2 separate regions of the Homo sapiens genome follow, and region 2 is linked to region 1. Evidence: promoter capture Hi-C in human tissues and cell types (Jung and others, 2019). All regions are on one chromosome and are shown on one strand. Each heading gives the region's core, a stretch centred on a gene start or on the middle of the fragment in contact. The rest is flanking DNA. Distances are from core to core; before and after follow the strand shown.

Region 1 (3,801 bases), core at 192-2,691:
TTTTTGTCCTAAAAAAGCATAATAGGTTAGCTGACCAATGATTAAAACATTATAGATCCGGAACGAACTAGAGAAGGCATGCAAAATTCAGATGAGAAAGTTTCTAAGTGATAGCTCCAGCTACCCCTCCAAATATCACAAAGGTCTAGCAGAATTGGAATTAAAAAAAAAAAGTCCTCTTGCACGGTTTATTTAAAATAAAGCCTTAACCTTAAAATTCCCTTGAAGGTGTTACAGCAAAGTAGGTATTCAGGCTCTGACCAACAAGGGGATGTAGACAGGCTGTCACCCAGGAGGGGCCGTTAGAGCTGGGCTCCCTGGGGATGCAAGGGGGTCCCACGGGGCAGTGGGCGAGGCAGATGCAGAAAGCACACCCAGCTGCCCCCACAACGCAGAGAAGCGTGGGGTGGGGAAAGGGAACTAATTCCACACTGCCTCCGGACCCCAAAGGCGAGGTGCGGGGGCGGGGGCGGGGGCGGGGGCGGATATCCCAGTGAGTGCTGCAGGAAATGATATCCAGACTCGGAGGGTGGATCTAGGAAGCCGCCAGGGCGAGGGCCCGGCGGGGGGGAGGGGGTGGGAGTGGGAACGTAGGATGTGGCTCCAAGGGGCAGGATGAGGGGGCGGGACGATCGAACGCGGATGTCGAGCCTAGGGAGGGCAAGGAGGGATGAAAAGCTAGCGGAGGGACGAGGGTGCAAGGAGCGGCTGGAGAGAGATGGGCTGCGGGCCTGGGGGCGCTGCCAGAGCGAGAGGAGGCGAAGCCCACGAGCTGGGTGGGCAGGAGGGCGGCAGGGTCTGTCCGGGCGGGGATGGGCGGGCGTGGGGATGCGCGGGCTGGGGCGCGGGGGTCGCAGAGCCGCAGGTCCGGCCCTGCCGGCGCGCACTTACCCCACTCGAGGAACTCGGCCACGTACTTGTCGCGGCGCAGGGCCGAGTGGCTGCACTCGGTGTACAGGCAGACGAGCACGTCGAGCAGCGTTTCCACGCTCAGGGCGCTCTCGTTGCGCCAGGGCCCGTCCAGGAGCAGCTGCTCCAGCTTCTTGAGCCGCACCTTGGCCGACATGGTGCCGCGCGGCCCGCTCCCGACGCGCCGGCCTCTCACCGCCGGCTCGGCCAGTCCGTCAGGGCGCGCCCTCGGGGGCTCGGCGGCTGCGAGCCCCGGCAGCAGCGGCGCCTCCTCGCCGCCCCGTCCGCGTCGTCGCGCCCCGGCCTAGGCCGACATCTTGGGCTCCGTCCCGACGGCGCAGAGTCTGGGGCGCCGGGCCCCGCGGGTCCATGGGCCGCTCTCCTCCCCTCGGCGCCGCCGCCCTCCCAGCTCGGGCGGCCCGCCCCCGCCGCCCTCAGCCCCGCCCGCGGCCGCGCCCTCCCCGCCGCCGCCGCCGCAGACTAGGAGCGGCGAGGAGCCTAGCGCTGCGCAAGCCCGGCCGGCGCCCGAGCCCGACCCCAGCCCCGACCCGGCGGCCCAGCCCCGCGGCCCGCAGCCAACCAGGGCGCGGCCAGCACCAGCGCAGCCAACCACTACGGGGCCGGCCGCCGCCGCGCTGACCTCAGCGCGCCGCCCCGCCCCGCGCCCGGCTCCCTGCTCCCGGCGGGCTCGGGCCTCGCCGCTTGCCGTAGGGAGCCGGGATGCTGGGAAGGCAGGGCCGGGCCTGGGGAGCGGCGCGGGGTGGGGGTGGGGGGGGCGGGGCGGGGCGAGTGGGCCGCTGAGATTGCGGAGCCCGCGCATGCGCAGAGCGCGCCTGGTGGGCGTGTGCGCCTTCGCCCTGCGGACCCGGTGCCTTCAGTATTCGGGGTCCGACCGCGCGCGTCGCGGATCCCGGGGCCGAAGACGACCCCAAGTATCGGAGAGGCAGAGTCGCGATCTCAGGCCGTCGAGCCCCGTCCCGCAGTCCGCGGGCCCATGTTGCCTGCGGGGCCTCGGACCTGCCCGGCCGAGGTGGGGGTCGAGGGCGGCCCGGCAGGCGCAGCTCTGATGGCCTCGGCGGGTTGTGGGCTATTTAAAACGGCTTGTCCCAGCTCGAAGCGGTCCTGGAAGACTCGGGCCCTACCCCTGACTTTACCGATGAGAGACTGAGGCCCAGACGGTGTGGGGTCAGGGCCCAGGCTTCTGGGGGATGCTGCCAAGGCGGGAGCCAGCGTCCCCAGTGCCCGGTGGATTCGTGATGGCTTGCAGAGGGTTTCAGTTTCCACTGTCCAGCCCTCCCTGCAGACCAATGCCTAGGTGTGACAGTTTGGTAGGAAAGGGGCCGGATATTTGTCTCCAGGCTGGGTTTGCCTAGCGAGTCGCTGCATTTACTAAGATTGTTGGTTAATTTGGGTGGCTGGGGGAGGGAGGCTGATGGAGATACCCCCCAACCCCAACAAACCCTTGGCGTCAGGAGAGGAGGGGCTTTTCCTGGAGCTTGCGGAAGGTCACCGAAATCGTGGGGGTATCTGAGAGCTTCTGGGGCGCGCGGGTGCAGGGGAAGGGGTCATGCTTCCGTGGAAGCGGTGGCCTCCAGGTGGAGCCGATGAAGGGGCAGATAGGGGTTTGAAGCAGGACGTTAAGGGAGCCTGAAGCAAAACTAATCTCTGGAGCTAAAAATAGGAGTGGGCCTGGCGCGGTGGCTCACACCTGTAATCCCAGCACTTTAGGAGGCCGAGGTGGGCGGATTGCCTGAGCTCAGGACTTCGAGACCAGCCTGGGCAACACGGTGAAACCCCGTCTCTACTAAAATACAAAAAACTAGCCGGGCGTGGTGGCGCGCGCCTGTAGTCCCAGCTACTCGAGAGGCTAAGGCAGGAGAATTACTTGAACCCGGGAGGCGAAAGTGCAGTGAGCCAAGATCGCTCCACTGCACTCCAGCATGGGCAACAGAGCACGACTCCGTCTTAATAATAGTAATAATAATAAGAAGAAGAAGAAGAAGAAGAGGAGTGGCTGCCTATGCCGGAGTTGTTGACTGGAACAAGAGGAGGAACCTTCTGGGCTGCTGGTAATGTTCTATGCCTGGATTTGGGTAGTAGTTACATGGGAGCACGCATAAGTAAACATTCTTCAAACTGTCTTCTTAAGATGAGTGCATGTCACTGTGTGTATGTATATATAATACCTTCATTTCTTAAAGGCAGGTGAGAACAATCTGGCGTTAGAGGTGAGAGTACTGGTTGCCTTTGGGGTATCAACTGGAAGGAGGCACAAGGAGAGGCCTCTAGGGGGCTGGGAACATTCTGTATCTTCAGCACAGCCGTTTTGTAACGTTGGGTCTGTAAATGTGTATAAATTCATCAAACTGTATTCTAAATATTTGCATGTTACTATTTGTGTATGACACCTTAAAAGTTTTTTTTAAAAAGTCTGAGCAGATCACCTGGCTCAAAATCAAAGTTAAATCTTCCCCCTTGGACCCCTTAGGGCCTGAGATGAGCAAGGGGAAAGGGGGCTGTGCCTGGTGCCATCTCCTTCCCCAAACCTCCCTCGGCTCGCTCAGCCCACTTCCACCCATCTAGAACCACCACCGGGAAGGGAGAAAGGGAGAAGTGGGGAAGGGCTCCAATCCCATCTGGATTGGCAGAGGGTAAAGCTGACCCTGTCTCTCCTGGGAACATTCATGGGCTCCTCGGTGGTTCCCTGCTGCTTTGTCTCCTGAAGTCCCCTTAACTCAAGCAGATGTGCCACTGGGTGGATGCTTACCTGGTGGCTGTGGAGGGGAGGGGCCCTCTGCCCTTCCTGAGGGACTTTTGGACAGGACCTAAATGGATCCATGGGTCTTGTGCTTGCTCATCCACCCAGCTCACATCTGTCCTCAGGAAACACTG
Region 2 (3,689 bases), core at 741-3,240, 540 kb before region 1:
GAGCATGACTTCCAAACACCTAGGAAGCCCCAGGTGGAGGGCGGAGGGGGGTCTTGCCATCTTGGGATAGGAGTTGACCTTTGACCCCATCATGCTCCTGCTGGGACCTGACCCAGGCACACTCCTCTTCCTCTGGGAGGGCTTGTCCCACCAGGGCAGGGGTCTGTGTGTGCCCAGGCAGGGAGCCACAGGCAGTAGGGGGAGGCTGGGGCTGCAAGCACAGAGGCCCCGGAAAGTGTGTGAGGACGCTGGGGAGTGGGAAGGGCCCTCGGAGGGGTGGTATGGCCGGCTTAGGTTTTCTCGACAACTCTAGTTGAGTATGCACTGCAGGGAGACGGAGAGGCCGCAGCCACTGAAGCCAACTGTGCTGGAGCAGGCGGAGGGCACCAGGGGTCCCTGGAGAGAAGTGCCGCCTCCTGCCAGGCCCCTGACCTATAGGTGAGGGTGTGAGCAGAAGAGGAGAATCTAGGAGGCCTCCCGGGTATTAGGGGAAAGCTGAGCACCTGGAAGATGGCAGAGCCAAGAGGTGTCCATGGCCCTGGAGATGGGGTCATGAGTATAAAGAGGGCGCTTGGAGTGTGAGGCACCAGGGATGGGAGGTGAGAGGCCCGAGGCCCCAGCCGGGGCTTCCAGGAAAGGAGGTGGGAGAGGGTCTTGGGGCCAAGAAGGCACAGGGCTTCCCGAAGCCAAGGTGTCCCAAAAATAAGGGAGCGGTCGGCTGGGACAGATTCAGATGTGGTGGCTCACACCTGTAATCCCAGAACTTTGGGAGTCCGAGGCGGACAGATCACCTGAGGTCAGGAGTTCAAGACCAGCCTGACCAACATGGTGAAACCCTGTCGCTACTAAAAACACAAAATTAGGCCTGGTGGTGCATGCCTGTAATCCCAGCTACTCGGTAGGCTGAGGCAGGAGAATCGCTTGAACCCAGGAGGCGGGAGGTTGCGGTAAACTGAGATCGCGCCATTGCATTCCAGCCCGGGCAACAAGAGCAAAACTCGGTCCATAGGTCACAGTGCCCTTTACAGAATGTCATGGGGTTAGGGGAGAAACCTGTTTGGAGAGAGTTCAGGAGCAAGCGGGGAGCGGGATAGAGCTGTGAGGACAGGAGAGGAAGGGGCAGGCTTAAAGAATGAAACGGTGGAGATAACACACGTGCACATGCATGTATGTGCACTCAGACACGTGGGTAGGCCCACACATGCATCTGTGCATCATGGGCGGCACGCTGTGTGTGCATGCGTGTGCGTGGGCAGCATGCTGCAGCCTGCATTTGTGTGTCCTGTGTGTCCATTATGTGTGCAGTGCGCTGATGGGCAAAAACGCTGACGATGCAGGCCAGCTGATAACCTGGAGGAGGCCGGCTGGAGTGGGGCCTGCCACACGTGAGGGGTACCCTGGGCTGGCGACATGGGCAGTTCTTCTTGGGGGGGGGCAGCATGTTGGGCACAGACACAGAGGAGGGCACAGGTAAAGGTGCTCGGAGACATCTGCTCTGGTGGCTTCTATTTTCAAGGCCATCTGCTGAGAATAGGAAGGGGTGGATGGTGGGGAGGGGGCTGGAGGAGAGGGCTTCATTTGCTGACTACACTGAGATCCTCTCTGACCTGAGCCCCTGCCACCCAGCCAGGCCTGCGGAGCCTGCCATCTGCGCAACTGGGATGGGACAGGTGGCCGCGGCCAGGAAGGCACCACAGGTGCAGGCAGGAGGGCAGGCAGCTTCCTCAGGGAGGGGCTGGCACCAGACATGCTGGATCCCGCCTAATCAGCCACCCACCAGTGGTGGGACTGGGCTGAGCACCAGTCACTTATCTGTGACATGGGTCAGGTGGATTTTGGGTGTCAGAGGGAAGGTGTTTCATGTGGCAAGACTGGCAAGGCCAGCATGCGGAGTGGCTAGGACCGGGTGAGAGCCTGGGGGTGTCCCAACACTTGCCCCACCTCATGCAGGTTCTGTCCTTCCACTGCCTGGCCAGACCAGACCAAAGCTCACCTGGCCTTTAAGACTGGCACCTGCACCAGGAGCCACTACTACTCCCTCCTACGGTGGCAGGCTGGGCTCTGCCCCACCGCGTCTGCAGCCCCATCAGCTGGTCTCTCAAGGCTCAGCTTTGGGATGCCAGTACAGACCAAAGACAGGACAAAACCAGTGGAGACAAGGGACATCCTGGGAGCCGAAGGGTCCAGCATGTATAGCCAAGGAGTGGCGTCTCAAGTGTGCAGGGAGCCCCCAACATAGCTGGAAGATCGGCCCGGGGGAAGATGGGCGAGGGCACCATAGGTTATCCACATGCTGGCCAACAGACACGTGGAGATAGACATTCAGCTTTGCCAGGAATCAGCACGTGTACAGGCTCCTGGCGAAAACTGAGTAGACTGGGAAAGCCCGTGCTGGCCGGGTTAGGACTCAGGCACTTGCCCCACCAGCAGGGAAAACTCACATGCTTGGGGGCCCGGCAGATCCTTCTGTAGGCATCTTATCACAGGTGAATACCTGCCTGTGTACTAAGTTACATATACAATACAATGCTCACTGCTGTGGATTTTGTTCTCTTGCTTTTTTTTTTTTTTTTTTTTTTGAGACAGGGTCTTGCTCTGTTGCCCAGGCTGGAGTGCAGTGGTGCAATCATAGCTCACTGCAGCCTCACTCTCCTGGGCTCAAGTGATCCTCTCACCTCAGCCTCCCAGGTAGCTGGGACTATAGGCACATGGCCACCACACACAAAAAATAAATTTTTTAATTTTTATTTTTGTAGACATGACACCAGGTCTTGCTATGTTGCTCAGGCTGGTCTTGAACTCCTGAGCTTAAGCGATCCTCCTGCCTCAACCTCCCAAAGTGCTGGAATTACAGGTGTGAGCCACCTCAACTGACTTAATTATTTAATGTTTCATAAAATAATTTAGCAGCCGGGGGCAGTGGCTCACACCTGGAATCCCAGCACTTCGGTAGGCTGAGACAGGCAGGTCACCTGAGGTCAGGAGTTTGAGACCAGCCTGGCCAACATGGTGAAACCCCGTCTTTACTAAAAATACAAAAAAAAATTAGCCAGGCATGGTGGTGGGCACCTGTAATCCCAGCTACTCGGGAGGCTGAAGCAGGAGAATCACCTGCACCCGGGAGGCAGAGGTTGCAGTGAGCCGAGATGGCGCCACTGCACTCCAGCCTGGGTGACAGAACGAGACTCCATCTCAAAAAAAAAAAAAAAAAAAAAAAGAATTTAGCTGAATTTTGTATTTTCTTTCTTTCTTTTTTTTTTTTTGAGACGGAGTCGCCCAGGCTGGAAGCTCTGCCTCCCCGGGTCACGCCATTCTCCTGCCTCAGCCTCCCGAGTAGCTGGGACTACAGGCGCCCGCCACCACGCCCGGCTAATTTTTTTTGTATTTTTAGTAGAGACGGGGTTTCACCATGTTAACCAGGATGGTCTCGATCTCCTGACCTCGTGATCCGCCCGCCTAGGCCTCCCAAAGTGCTGGGATTACAGGCGTGAGCCACCGCGCCCAGCCTTATATTTCATGTCTATTTCATTATTAAAGCTTTGAAGAGAATACAAGTGCATACCAAGTACTAGGGAGATAGAGTCACTGCTGCATCTTTAATAAGGAAAACCTGGAAACTACCTAGGTGACCATCAGAAGGGGTATGGCTGACATGGTCATGGCGAAGCCTGCTGTGACTTTGCTGCAGC

Evidence for each region. Contacts are between HindIII fragments. The study calls those that stand out against the background at their distance.
Region 2: a contact is called between a fragment that was not itself captured here and the fragment with the promoter of CDC42BPB in region 1, in 2 of the 25 tissues and cell types used here (dorsolateral prefrontal cortex and small bowel).

Annotation. Positions count from the first base shown.
Region 1 is chr14:103,056,108-103,059,908 of GRCh38, forward strand. CDC42BPB (CDC42 binding protein kinase beta) reads right to left here and starts at 1,442. Exons shown (of 37, transcript NM_006035.4): 1 at 892-1,442. The coding sequence starts at 1,066. RefSeq lists silencers at 1,114-1,193, 1,284-1,783, 1,824-1,933 and an enhancer at 1,929-2,579. The HindIII fragment of the contact is 24,533 bases long and covers 1-3,801 here.
Region 2 is chr14:102,512,897-102,516,585 of GRCh38, forward strand. It overlaps LOC105370679 (a long non-coding RNA gene), which reads left to right. Exons shown (of 4, transcript XR_007064352.1): 3 at 335-438; 4 at 1,306-1,458. Among named protein-coding and RNA genes, the nearest start is that of ANKRD9, 5.0 kb to the left of the region's middle. The HindIII fragment of the contact is 6,246 bases long and covers 1-3,689 here.